3 separate regions of the Homo sapiens genome follow, and regions 2 and 3 are each linked to region 1. The links are contacts of gene promoters, found by promoter capture Hi-C in blood cells and fetal thymus (Javierre and others, 2016). All regions are on one chromosome and are shown on one strand. Each heading gives the region's core, a stretch centred on a gene start or on the middle of the fragment in contact. The rest is flanking DNA. Distances are from core to core; before and after follow the strand shown. Region 1 holds the start of HNRNPM (heterogeneous nuclear ribonucleoprotein M). Region 2 holds the start of ZNF846 (zinc finger protein 846). Region 3 holds the start of PPAN (peter pan homolog).

Region 1 (4,051 bases), core at 1,334-3,833:
AGACCCTGTCTCTACAAAAAGAGAAAGAAACAGAGAGAGAGAGAAGGAAAAGTGTTTTCTTTGCAAATCTATTCTAATACTTTCATAGAGAAGAGTTTTAGTTTGGTGTTAACCTGTCTTTAATAATCCTCTAAGGACCAGCACAGTGGCTCACGCTTATAATCCCAGCACTGTGGGAGGCCAAGGCTGTAGGATCCCTTGAGCTCAGGAGTTCGAGACCATCCTGGGAAAAACGGCAAGACCCTATCTGTACCAAAAAATAAAAATAAAAAATTAGCCAAGTGCAGCGGCGTGCACCTACAGTCCCAGCTACTTGACAGGCTAAGCAGGGGAGGATCGCTTGAGTTCAGGAGTTCAAGGTTGCAGTGAGCTATCATTTACAAAGGTAGATTGAAATATTATTGATAGGCTGGGCACGGTGACTCACACCTGTAATCCCAGCACTTTGGGAGGCTGAGGTGGGCAGATCACCTGAGGTCAGGAGTTTGAGACTAGTTTGGCCAGCATGGCAAAACCCCATCTCTACTAAAAAATACAAAACTTAGCCAGGCGTCGTGGTGTGCACCTGTAATCCCAGATACTTGGAAAGCTGATGCAGAAGAATCGCTTGAAATCAGGAGGCGGAGGTTGCAGTGAGCTGAGATGGTGCCACTGCACTCCAGCCTCTGTGACAGAGCAAGACTGTCTCCAAAAAAAGAAAAAAATATATTATTGATAATCGCTGCATTGAAGGCCAGGCGCAGTGGTTTACGCCTACAATCGCAGCACTTTGGGAGCCTGAGGCAGGCGGATCACGAGGTCAGGAGTTCGAGACCAGCCTGACCAATATGATGAAACCTTGTCTCTACTAAAAATACAAAAGTTAGCCGGGCGTGGTGGCATGCACCTGTAATCCCAGCTACTCGGGAGGCTGAGACAGGAGAATCGCTTGAACCCAGGAGGCGGAGGTTGCAGCGAGCCGAGATGGCGCCATTGCACTCCAGTCTGGGCAACAAGAGCGAAACTCCGTCTCAAAAAGATAATCGCTGCATCTTACTGCCCAAGTTGCCACAAGCACACGTAACATCTGATGGTGCCAATTCGACTGTCTGCACTTGGAAAATGGCACATTGGAGGCTGCACAGCACCATAAAACTGATGCCACGAATGCACACAAAAATAAGACCATACAGCATTATGCCTAGTACAGAATACACCCTGAATTCTGTCACAGTTCACTTTATGCAACATTGCAAGAGTCCTCTCGCTCTTTATTATTATTTTTAATTTTTTTGAGATGGGGTCTCACTCTGTGACCAGGCTGGAGTGCAGTGGCCCGATCTTGGCTCACTGCAACCTCCTCCTCCTGGGTTGAAGCGATTCTCCTGCCTCAGGCTCCCCAGTAGCTGGGATTATGGGCGCCTGCCACCACACCCGGCTAATTTTTGTATTTTTAGTAGAGACAGGGTTTCATCATGTTGGCCAGGATGGTCTGATCTCTTGACCTCGTGATCCACCCGCCTTGGCCTCTCAAAGTGGTAGGATTACAGGCGTGAGCTGCCGCGCCCAGCCATTAATTTTTTTTTTAATTTTGTTTTTAACTTTTAGGTTTGGGGGTAAATGTGAAGGTTTGTTAAATAGGTAAACACTTGTCATGGAGGTTTGTTGTACAGATTATTTCATCACCCAGGTATTAAGCCCAGTACTCAATACTTATCTTTTTGTTTTTTGAGATGGAGTCTCAGTCTATCTCCCAGGCTGCGGTGCAGTGGCGTGATCTCGGCTCACTGCAACCTCCGGCTCCTGGGTTCAAGCGATTCTCCTGCTTCAGCCTCCCGAGTAGCTGGGATTACAGGCGCCCGCCACCACGTCCAGCTAATTTTTTTATTTTTAGTAGAGACGCGGTTTCACCATGTTGGCCAGTCTGGTCTCGAACTCCTGACCTCAGGTGATCCGCCGCCTCGGCCTCCCATACCCAAAGTGCTGGGATTACAGGAGTGAGCCATCGCGCCTGGCCCCATTATTAGTGAATTTTAACAGTTTTCCGTTTCTTCTGGACGAACTGTTTGCAATTATAATGCGAATTACGGATAATACTCTGATATTATTCCATGCCGTTCCGTTGTTGCCTACAAAGTTCGCGCTGGAGAACCGCGCAATTGCGTTACAAAAAGAAAAAAATCACACAAAAAGACACAATGTTTTAAGAAAGTTTACGAATCGTGTGCCGGACCGCGGGTTGAACAAGCTTCATCTAAAACTTCCAGGAATCTCTAGACAGGATCATTGCTTCCCCTCTGCTCCAGCTCTGGTTACAGAAAGCTGAGAGTGACTAGGTCTAGGTGTTTGTGTGGGGTGGGGTGGGGAGATGCCTCCTCTATCGGACTCAGAGGACGCGCGCCGGGAACAGCCAGTCGGTGCCTAACGCGAGTGTATCTCGAGAGAGAAGCGATCAACAGCTGCCGGTCTGCGCCTGCGCGCGGCGGGGGCGTGGCCCGGGGCGAGTGGGGCCAAGGAGGCAGCCGGGAGCGGCGGGCGCAGGTGTTACTGGTTGCGTCGGGTCACGTGGGCGCGCAGGCGCAGCGCGGTGCAGCCCGTTCGCTCACACAAAGCCCAGACGCGGAGAAAATGGCGGCAGGGGTCGAAGCGGCGGCGGAGGTGGCGGCGACGGAGATCAAAATGGAGGAAGAGAGCGGCGCGCCCGGCGTGCCGAGCGGCAACGGGGCTCCGGGCCCTAAGGGGTGAGTATCCCACGGTCCTTTGCCACGGGTAAGGGTTCCTCTCCGCGGCCGACGCGGGCGGCGGCTCCGTTAGGTCTGTTGGCGGCCTAGCCCCGGCGCGGCCTCGGCCCCGGCTGTTCCCGTACCGCCTGCTCAGGGTAGCGGCGTCTAGGGCCGTGAGCGGGGAGCCGGGGGAGCCTCCAGAATCGTCCCCTACACCGGGCCTCGAGCCTCGCCACCCTCAGTCCCTCCAGGCCGGGGCCAACCCCGTAGTCGAGGCCTCAGGCCCAGCTGCTGCGCATGGGGGTTGATGGCGCGGGCCCGGACCGGAGAGCCTCCGAGGCCTACCCGACCGCTCCCCGGGAGGGTGACCTCGGGGGCCGGGTTTCAGCCCCCCGTCCCCTCTCCTCCCGGGGTCTGTTTTCTGATCCGTAACGTGGGGGGAGGAGAGAGGGTGCGCGCCCGGGAGGCCTCGCGCGCAGTCAGCCCGAGTCAACGGTAACCGAGCGAGGGAAGCGTCAGGAAGGGCCGCGAAGCCGGGTCGGGGGGCTCCCCTCCTGCCCCGCCCCTTAGTCCCCGCGCGCCGACCGCGCTCCGCGGGAAGTGCCTCCCTCGGAACCGCCCCTCGCCCCACGCTCTGGCCCTGGCTCAAGTCCCTCGCCGTTTCCCGCTCCTCCTCCCCGGGTGCGCCGCAGGTATTAGTGGAGAGATGGGATCTGCTGCTTAGCGTTCACCCTCGGAAGCAGACAGATACGAAGTCGGGGGAGGAATCCCCTTTTTCCCGTGTTTCGGGGAAGCTGTTCTGTCAGGAGGCGGGTTCATTTACTTCCAGACTTCATCAGCTTTTCGAGTCCTGCTTGGGGCTCTTTGACTCCTTGGCTTTTAAAAGTTTCTTTAAAGGAGGAAGCATCGACTTGTGCCCCGGTGAAACTCATTCATTCTGATTACAGACACTTAAGAGAGACAGAGAGGTTTTGGCTCCAAGATCAGCGGCCGGGAAGGAAGGGGAAGCCTGGGTACACATTGAATTTCCCAGACATTTATTTCATTGTGGTAAAATAGACATAACGTAGACTTTGCCATTTTAACCATTTTTTAAGCGTATAATTCAGTGGCATTGAGTATACTGACTCAGTGTGCTGTAACCGTCACTGCTTCATGTCCAGAACTTTTTCATCATCGGAAACAGAAAGTGTAGCTATTAAATACTAACTCCCTCCGTTTTCTTTCCTTTCTGTCTGTGACTTTGCCTTCCTCATATTGTAATGTGTGAAGCTTAGTTTATGGAGATTAAAAGTGAATGCGGTTGAGCACTTATATATTTAATTTTTTTCTTTGAGACAGGGTCTCCC
Region 2 (4,433 bases), core at 88-2,587, 1.3 Mb after region 1:
CCAGGATTACAGGTGTTTAAGTTACCGCACCCGGCCAATACACATTGATCTACACAAGAGATGCAAAGAAACAGAAAACATGCAAAATATTAACAAATGATCAGTCTACAACAAGGATATATAATAGGTGTTCAATATTCTGGCCTTTCACATTTTCTTTGGTTTAGAATATTCAATCTACAGATAGCCTGGGCAACAAACCAAGACCCTGTCTTTAAAACGTAAATAAATAAATAAAAATATATGAGGGGGAAGGCCAGGCGCGGTGGCTTATACCTGTAATTCCAGCACTTTGGGAGTCCGAGGAGGGTGGATCACGAGGTCAGGAGTTCGAGACCAGCCCAACCAACATGGTGAAACCCCGTCTCTACTAAAAATGCAAAATTAGCCGGGCGTGGTGGCACATGCCTGTAATCCCAGTTACTCAGCATGCTGAGGCAGGAGAATCGCTTGGACCGGGAGACAGAGTTTACAGTGAGCCTATATCACGCCATTGCACTCCAGCCTGGGCAATAAGAGCGAAACTCCGTCTCAAAATATGTATATATACGAGAGGAAAAACGCTGAATCAAAACATGTCTCTTTCACAGTTAATACAACTGTAATTTCTGATACTGGTATAATGAAGGCGGCATCCTACTTCCTGGAAGCCCCTCCGTTTTGAAGCTCTTTGGGAGGTACTGACCTAGGAAGTTCAGCTGCTTTTGATCTCAAAAACACAGCGGAGTATTGCTACTTTGCTTTATAACTGTGGCAATATTTGCTTTTATTTCTATAAACCTACAACTCCTGCACACTTGACAAAGCATTTAACTGCTGAGCAATTTCGCAAACTTCAATAAGCGATGCCCTCCCACAGCCAGATCATCTCCTCCGTCCAGGGCTCACCGGAACGCACTGCAATCGCCCTGTCGGTGACAAGAGGACGCTGGGGCCCTTTTCCACAACAGCTGAGATGCTTTTCCTTCTGGAGAAAGGACACAAAGGTTGACTGGCTGCTTTTAAACAGAGGGGCACGGTGGTTGGAGAAAAAAACACGTCTCCACCGGGGACCCTGGGCCAGGCCCAGACTGATGCGGGCGCAGCGGGAAGAGGCGCTCAGAAGAGAAGGCGGGAACCCCCCGCCTCGGGGTCCTGGCGGGGAGGAGGCGCCGCTTCTCCGGAGCAGCAGCGGGAGGCCGGCGCGTCTCAGACCTAGCAGAAGTCCGGAGCGTCACCCTCCGACCCTCGCTCCGCCTCCCGCTAGGCCCTCCTGCCCCGCCCTGCCTAGGTTGAGCATGAGCGCTGGCTGAGGTGAAAACCCAGCTAGGAAGCTGCTGGAGAGCGGGGAATACGTATAGCTGCGCGCCGGCTGGCACTTCCGCTTCCGGTTGCGCACGGCATTAAGTGTAGGGGCCGAGCCCCAAGAGCTTTGGAATGAGGATGATGTGAAGCTGAGAGAAGAGCTGGGGCCACCTCTTCGACACGCGTACAGAAAAGTCCCGTTTTCTCGCATCCCAGGTGGACCAGGATCCAGATCAATCTGTCGATATTGGGAACGACGCCGGACCAGGAAACCCAGCGCCAAGGGCCGGGTTGGAGGCGGGGACTGGCGCAGCGGGCGGGGCACGCGTGGAGGCGTCACCTAAGGCTTCGATTGCAGACAGCGGGATGCTCATCGAGTGCTTTTCTTTTCTTTTTTAATTTCTCTTTTTAGTTTTTTGAGATAAGGCTCCGGTCTGTCGCCTAGGCTGGAGTGCAGTGGCTCGGTCATAGATCATTGCAGCCTGGAATTCCTGCGCTGAAGCTATCCTCCCGCCTCGGCCTCCGGAGTAGCTTGGACCACAGTTGGGCCCATCACGCCCAGCTAAGTTATCTTTTTCTAGACACTTGGGTCTCACTGTGTTCCCTAGGCTGGTCTCGAACTCCTGAGCCTAAAGGATCCTCCCCCCTCGGCCTCCCAAGCAGCTTGGACCACAGGTGTGTGCCACCACGCCTGGCTAATTTATTTTTATTTTATTTTTATTTTTTTGTAGAGACAGGGTCTCTCTTTGTTACCCAGGCTGATCTGGAACTCCTGGGCTCCAGTGATCCTTCCACCTTGGCCTCCCAAAGTGCTGGGATTATAGGCGTGAGCCACCACCCTAGGGAAATTCTTTTCTGCAGGATTTTCTCCTTGTTTCTTCAACCCTCTGCAGGGATATAAACATATTTACAAAGATAATCCCGCTGTAGTCCTAGCTACTGCGGGAGAATCGCTTGAGCCCAGGAGTTCGAGACCAGCGACACCCTGTTTGAAAGATTAACCTGATGGGGCTGGGGGCAGTGGCTCACGCCTGTAATCCCAGCACTTTGGGAAGCCGAGGCGGGTGGAACACGTGAGTTCAGGAGTTCGAGACCAGCCTGGCCAACATGCCGAAACCCCATCTCTACTAAAAATATTTTTTAAAAAATAGCCGGGTGTGGTGGTGGGCGCCTGTAATCCCAGCTACTCGAGAGGCTGAGGCAGGAGAATTGCTTGAACCTAGGAGACTGAGGTTGCAGTGAGCTGATACGATGCCACAGTACTCCAGCCTGGGCGACAGAGTGAGACTCCGTCTCAAAAAAAAAAAAAAAAAGATTAACCTGTTAATCCATAAAATGCTCTGTGCCTCTGATACATTCAGTTCCTTCTTTAGGCCTTTAGTTTTGTTGTGATACAATTATCATAGCATACAATTAACCTGTTTAAAGTGTACAGTTTCGTGGCTTTTTGTATATTCATATATTTGTGCATCGATCATCACAATCAATTTTAGAACATTTTCATGACCACAAAAATAAACCCAGTACCCTAGCCATGATCACCCAATCTGCTCATCCAGCCCCACCCCCACCCCCAGAGTCCAAAGCAACAGCTAATCTTTCTGTCTGTATAGATTGCCTACTGTAGATATTGCCTGTAGAATTAGAATATAAAACACGTGGTGTTTGGCTTGTTTCATTCAATGTTTTCAAGGTTCATCCAATTAGCATGTATCAGTACTTAATTTTTTTTTACTAAATAAGATTCCATTGTATGGCTGTATCATAACATCAGTTGTTGGATATTGGGTTTTCTCTTTTTTTTTTTTTTTTGGCTTTTTTGGATAATACAAGACGCATTTTAAGCAGTGGTCAAAGGAACATTCATATTCCTAAACACTTTTGTCAATAAAAATAAGAATAGCTGGGTGCAGTGGCTCACACCTGTAATCCCAGCATTTTGGGAGGCCGAGGCAGGCGGATCACCTGAGGACAGGAGTTTAAGACCAGCCTGGCCAACATGGTGAAACACGGTCTCTACTAAAAAATACAAAAACCAGCAGGGCGTGGTGGTGCGCACCTGTAATCCCAGCTTCTCGGGAGGCTGAGGCAGGAGAATCACTTGAACCTGGGAGGCGGAGGTTGCAGTGAGCTGAGATGGCGCCACGGCACTTCAGCCTGGGCAACTGAGCACAACTGTCTCAAAAAAATAAAAAATAAAAAATAAATCCCCAGCTCAAAAAATAAAACCTAGAAAAAGAATATAAATGTAAACCAAAATGGAAAAAGGTTTATTTATTTATTTATTTTTTATTTCAATAGCCTTTGGGAAACAGGTGGTTTTGGGTTACATGGATAAGTTCTTTAGTGGTGATTTCTGGGATTTTGGTGCACCCATCATCCGAGCAGTGTACAATGTACCCAATGTGTAGTTTTTTATCCACTTTTATCCCTCACCCTTCTCCCACCCTTCCCCCAGAGTCCCCAAAGTGCATTCTTTCTTTCTATCCTTTTTTGTTTTGTTTTGTTTTTTCTTTTTGAGATGGAGTCTCATTCTGTTGCCCAGGCTGGAGTGTAGTGACATGATCTTGGCAACCTCCGCCTCCCAGGTTCAAGCAGTTCTCTTGCCTCAGCCTCCTGAGTAAGTGAGATTACAGACATGCGCCACCATGCTTGGCTAATTTTTGTATTTTTAGTAGAGATGGGGTTTTCCCACGTTGGCCAGGCTGGTCTTGAACTGCTGGCCTCAAGTGATCCACCCACTTCGGCCTCCCAAAGTGCTGGGATAACAGGCGTGAGCCACTGCGCCCACCCAAAGTTCATTATATCATTCTTATGCCTTTGCATCCTCATAGCTTAGTTCCCACTTATAAGTGAGAACATATATATGGTTTTCCATTCCTGAGTTACTTCACTTAGAATAATAGTCTCTATCCAGGTTGCTCAGAATGCTATGACTTTCTTGCTTTTTATAGCTGAGTGGTATTCTGTGGTGTATATATACCACATTTTTGTTATCCCCTTATTAGTTGATGGGCATTGAGACTGGTTCCATATTTTTACAGTTGCAAATTGTGGGCTGTAAACATGTGTGTGCAAGTGTCCTTTTTTTTTTTCTTTTTTGAGATGGAGTCTCCACTCTGCTGCCAGGCTGGAGTGCAGTGGCCTAT
Region 3 (3,895 bases), core at 775-3,274, 1.7 Mb after region 1:
GTGTGTGTGTAGTTTTATGGTTCTGAGTTGGTGGCCAGTAAGTTCCATGTAGTGTTGGCACTTATTTAATTAACTATTCATGATTTTGTTAATAGCTTGTTATAGAATTCAGGCATATATTTTTCAGCATAAGAAGCCAAGCACACCAGCTTGTCATTGGAGAGAATATATTAAGTGAGAAAAACATTCAGGAATCAGAGCTTTAACATGTTAAAGTTAGTGCTAAACATTGTCATATTGGATCTGAACCTATCCTAATATATAACCATAAAGCTTGACTTCTGCATTGGAACTATGCTTTCATAAATAAAGGATATCTCATTGATTAAAAAAAATTTTTAAAAAGACACAGCTGGAAACATAACAGTTTCAGGCAACAACTGTATGTTCCAAATATGGTCACACACACATCACAACTTAAAGGGAAATGGGGTGGGCTGAGTGGGTCTTTATCTGTGTGTCAGGCTTGTCCACATCCTGGTTCTTGTGATCACACAGTAGTGCACAGATACAAAACAGGTACACACAGTTGACACCCGGAAACCTATCCACCGCACCACAGAGGTCACCGTCTGTCTCCCACACACTCGGTCACATTTTCACACAAGTCAAATCACACGAGGACGGAACTGGGGGAAGTAACCATGCAGTCATTTCCCAGGGGTACAAAGAAACTCACATAGAGCCCCACAGAGCCCAGGCCCAGGGTCTGAGACCTGTCCAAAGGCCCCACCGACGACCAGCCACACGCCGGGAGAGTCACCTCCTTCCCCTGGTCTGCACCATCCTGAGCTCCCGAGTAACTCGAGTGGACTCCAGGGTTGAAAAAGGAAATGGTCGTCCCAGATCTGAGAGAGGCTGCCAGGCTGGGCTCTGGGCCTGGGTTGGGGCCCCCACACTGGGCCCCTCGGCCCCCCACCCTCAGCCCCCTCTGGCTTCCCCATTGGCAGTAGAGAGGGAGGGAACTTCATAAGTCACAGAGAGGGGCTGAAGAATACAGAGAGTCAGACAGATGGAGATGGGAGAGGCATAGGGAGATGGGAGAGACATAGGGAGATGGCAGAGAAAGGGAGAGACGGGGAGATGGGGAGAGACAGAGAGAGATGGGAAGATGGGGAGAGACCACAGGGAGGCAGATGAGAAGAAAGAAACAGGGATGGGGCCAGACACAGAGAAAGGAAACTTCTTTAGTTTCCATCTTCAGTTATAAATGATGAAAGAGACAACTGATGACAGAGACAAAGTTACAAGAGGGAGAAAGAGACAGGGGGAAGACGAGGGGGAGGGGAGACACATCTGGGGGAGAGGAGGAAGAATTGGGGTGCCAGAGAGAGCAAGGAGGGAGAGGAGGCCGATGGGGGAGGAGAGAGTAATGTTCAGCCCAGTGAGGGGGTGTCCCTTTCCCCCACTGCAAGGTTTTGGGGAAGAAGCCAGAGGCCTGAGGCCAAGACTGAGGCTTTGAGCGGAAAGAAGGAGGGGGCGAGTTATTCACGAAACGCCCGCCTTGCCCTGAGTTTCCAGAAGGTGATGTGGAGTTTCCATCCCTCAGCCTGTCTGCAGACAGGGGTACCCGGGGAGGACAGCTGGCCCAGAGGAGTTGCGAGACTAAAGTGAATGATTGCCACAGTCATTCCCTCCGGTGGCTTCTCCCCAAGTACTTGGCGCCAGAGCGCCCAACATTGTGCATACATGGTCGCTCCTAATTCGTGGGCCCGGGGGACATTATCAGCCTTACTTTGGGATATTTTAGGAGCCTCGGAATGCAGAAAGTGGTTTTAGCCCAGCTGGAGGAAATGGGCCGAAGCGGGATTCGAACCGGCGGATTCGTTTCTCTGCAGCCCGGAGCCGCGTAGCCCCGCCCCGGTCTCCCTAGAAACAGGCACCCGTGTCTCCATAGCAACCGCTCCATCTGATTGCCCCTCCCCGCTCCCAGAGGCCACCTAGTGCGCAGGCCCGCCTGATGTCGTCCCACGCCGTGCCGGCTCTCAGGCGCCGGAAGTGAGCTGCGCAGCGCCGGAAGCGGCGGACGCAGGAGGCCTCGTGGAGGACACAGCAGCATGGGACAGTCAGGGAGGGTAAGGCCCGGCAGCTTGGGAGGCAGGTGGCGCAGGTGGGGTCCCGGCCGAGGTCGCGGCGCTGACCCTTTGTCTCTCGTCGCCGCAGTCCCGGCACCAGAAGCGCGCCCGCGCCCAGGCGCAGCTCCGCAACCTCGAGGCCTATGCCGCGAACCCGCACTCGTTCGTGTTCACGCGAGGCTGCACGGGTCGCAACATCCGGCAGCTCAGCCTGGACGTGCGGCGGGTCATGGAGCCGCTCACTGCCAGCCGTCTGCAGGTTTGTACCCCACCCCCAGCCCGCCTCCACCCACCCTCGGCCTAGTCTTCGTAGCTGCAGTAATGGCTCCCGCTGTAAAACTGTGGGAGGACTTAAGTCTCCCCAGCTGGAAAAAAAGACCCTCATGGGGAGCATCATTTCTGCCTTTCAGGGCTTTTGCTGGGCTGGAGTGAGGGCGCGCAGCTTGGGAGATAGATAGTCGCCTAAGCCTGACAGTTAAGACTGGAATCTGGAGCCGGGCGTGGTGGCTCATGCCTGTATTCCCAGCATTTGGGGATGCTGATGCGGGAGGATCACTTGAGCCCAGGAATTCGAGACCAGCCTGAGCAGCATGGTGAAACCCCGTCTTTACAAAAAATAGAAAAATTAGTCGGATATGGTGTTGCGTGCCTGTAGTCCCGGCTACTCGGGAGGCTGAGGTGGGAGGATTCCTTGAGCCCAGGAAATTAAGGCTGTAGTGAATCGGGATCGTGCCACTTCACTCCAGTCTGGGCGACCGGAGGAGACCGTGTTAGAAAAAAAAAGACTAGAATCTGGAGGCAGCAAAGCAGGGTTGGAAACTGACTTCTCCCCAGTATCTGATGCAAGTTACTTAACCTCTCTGGGCCTGAGTTCGCTCATTTGTCAATGGGAAGATGCGCTGTGAGCAAGAGACAGAGTTAGAACTCAAATCTGCGTCCGACTGACTCTAAAGGCTAAGATCCTTTTGCTCCTCTGGGCTTGTTGAAAGGGTCAGATGCAAGACAGACCATAACAGGATCTGCACCGTCAGCTTATAGTTGTCACAACAAGGGATAAGCTATGTTTTCTTTTTTTCTTTTTGTCATTTCCAGGTTCGTAAGAAGAACTCGCTGAAGGACTGCGTGGCAGTGGCTGGGCCCCTCGGGGTCACACACTTTCTGATCCTGAGCAAAACAGAGACCAATGTCTACTTTGTGAGTAGACGCCCTCACCCTTCATCTCCCCCAGACCCCCCCTTCCCCTATCTCTCATGATGAACACATATGCCTCTGAGCTGCTGTGATTTCTGGCTTCAAAGTAAACGCTCTGAAGAAGAGATGGGGCAAAGGTGCCTACTCCGGGCACCTCTGCTAGACCCCTCCAGAGTCACTGATCTTTTCTTCTCCTGCAGAAGCTGATGCGCCTCCCAGGAGGCCCCACCTTGACCTTCCAGGTCAAGAAGGTGAGAGGGGTGGAGGTGGTACAAAGCCATGTGGGGTGGGAGCTGGACTTGGGGTTGTCCGCAGCCATGTGTGGTTGGTGGTCACCCCCTCCTCTCTCCTGTCCTACAGTACTCGCTGGTGCGTGATGTGGTCTCCTCACTGCGCCGGCACCGCATGCACGAGCAGCAGTTTGCCCACCCACCCCTCCTGGTACTCAACAGCTTTGGCCCCCATGGTATGCATGTGAAGCTCATGGCCACCATGTTCCAGAACCTGTTCCCCTCCATCAACGTGCACAAGGTGGGTCTGGCCTGGCGAGGTGGCAGGTATGGGGGGGTGCAGCGGATAGAGGTGCCACAGGCCCTCAGATGGATTGCTCACTCCTCCCAGCGCTGAGA

The links. Contacts are between HindIII fragments. The CHiCAGO score rates a contact against its expected background, and 5 or more counts as called.
Region 2: a contact is called between the fragment with the promoter of ZNF846 here and the fragment with the promoter of HNRNPM in region 1, in 1 of 17 cell types (M1 macrophages). The highest score is 5.6, in M1 macrophages.
Region 3: the fragment with the promoter of PPAN here is called in contact with the fragment with the promoter of HNRNPM in region 1 in 2 of 17 cell types (total CD4 T cells and naive CD4 T cells); the score reaches 5.8 in total CD4 T cells.

The regions. Positions count from the first base shown.
Region 1 is chr19:8,442,392-8,446,442 of GRCh38, forward strand. HNRNPM (heterogeneous nuclear ribonucleoprotein M) reads left to right here and starts at 2,584. Exons shown (of 16, transcript NM_005968.5): 1 at 2,584-2,720. The coding sequence starts at 2,608. RefSeq lists silencers at 2,343-2,622, 2,863-3,092. The HindIII fragment of the contact is 1,747 bases long and covers 2,226-3,972 here.
Region 2 is chr19:9,767,401-9,771,833 of GRCh38, forward strand. It overlaps ZNF846 (zinc finger protein 846), which reads right to left and starts at 1,338. Exons shown (of 6, transcript NM_001077624.3): 1 at 889-1,338. RefSeq lists a silencer at 1,153-1,322 and enhancers at 1,266-2,131, 1,403-1,622. The HindIII fragment of the contact is 9,482 bases long and covers 1-4,433 here.
Region 3 is chr19:10,104,338-10,108,232 of GRCh38, forward strand. It overlaps PPAN (peter pan homolog), which reads left to right and starts at 2,025. Exons shown (of 12, transcript NM_020230.7): 1 at 2,025-2,075; 2 at 2,164-2,334; 3 at 3,168-3,269; 4 at 3,467-3,517; 5 at 3,627-3,797. The coding sequence starts at 2,058. It overlaps PPAN-P2RY11 (PPAN-P2RY11 readthrough), which reads left to right and starts at 2,025. Exons shown (of 13, transcript NM_001198690.2): 1 at 2,025-2,075; 2 at 2,164-2,334; 3 at 3,168-3,269; 4 at 3,467-3,517; 5 at 3,627-3,797. The coding sequence starts at 2,058. It overlaps SNORD105 (small nucleolar RNA, C/D box 105), which reads left to right and starts at 3,314; the gene lies at 3,314-3,398. It also overlaps a transcript of ANGPTL6 not described here. RefSeq lists enhancers at 1,662-2,305, 1,902-1,951, 3,594-3,895 and a silencer at 2,172-2,221. The HindIII fragment of the contact is 12,960 bases long and covers 272-3,895 here.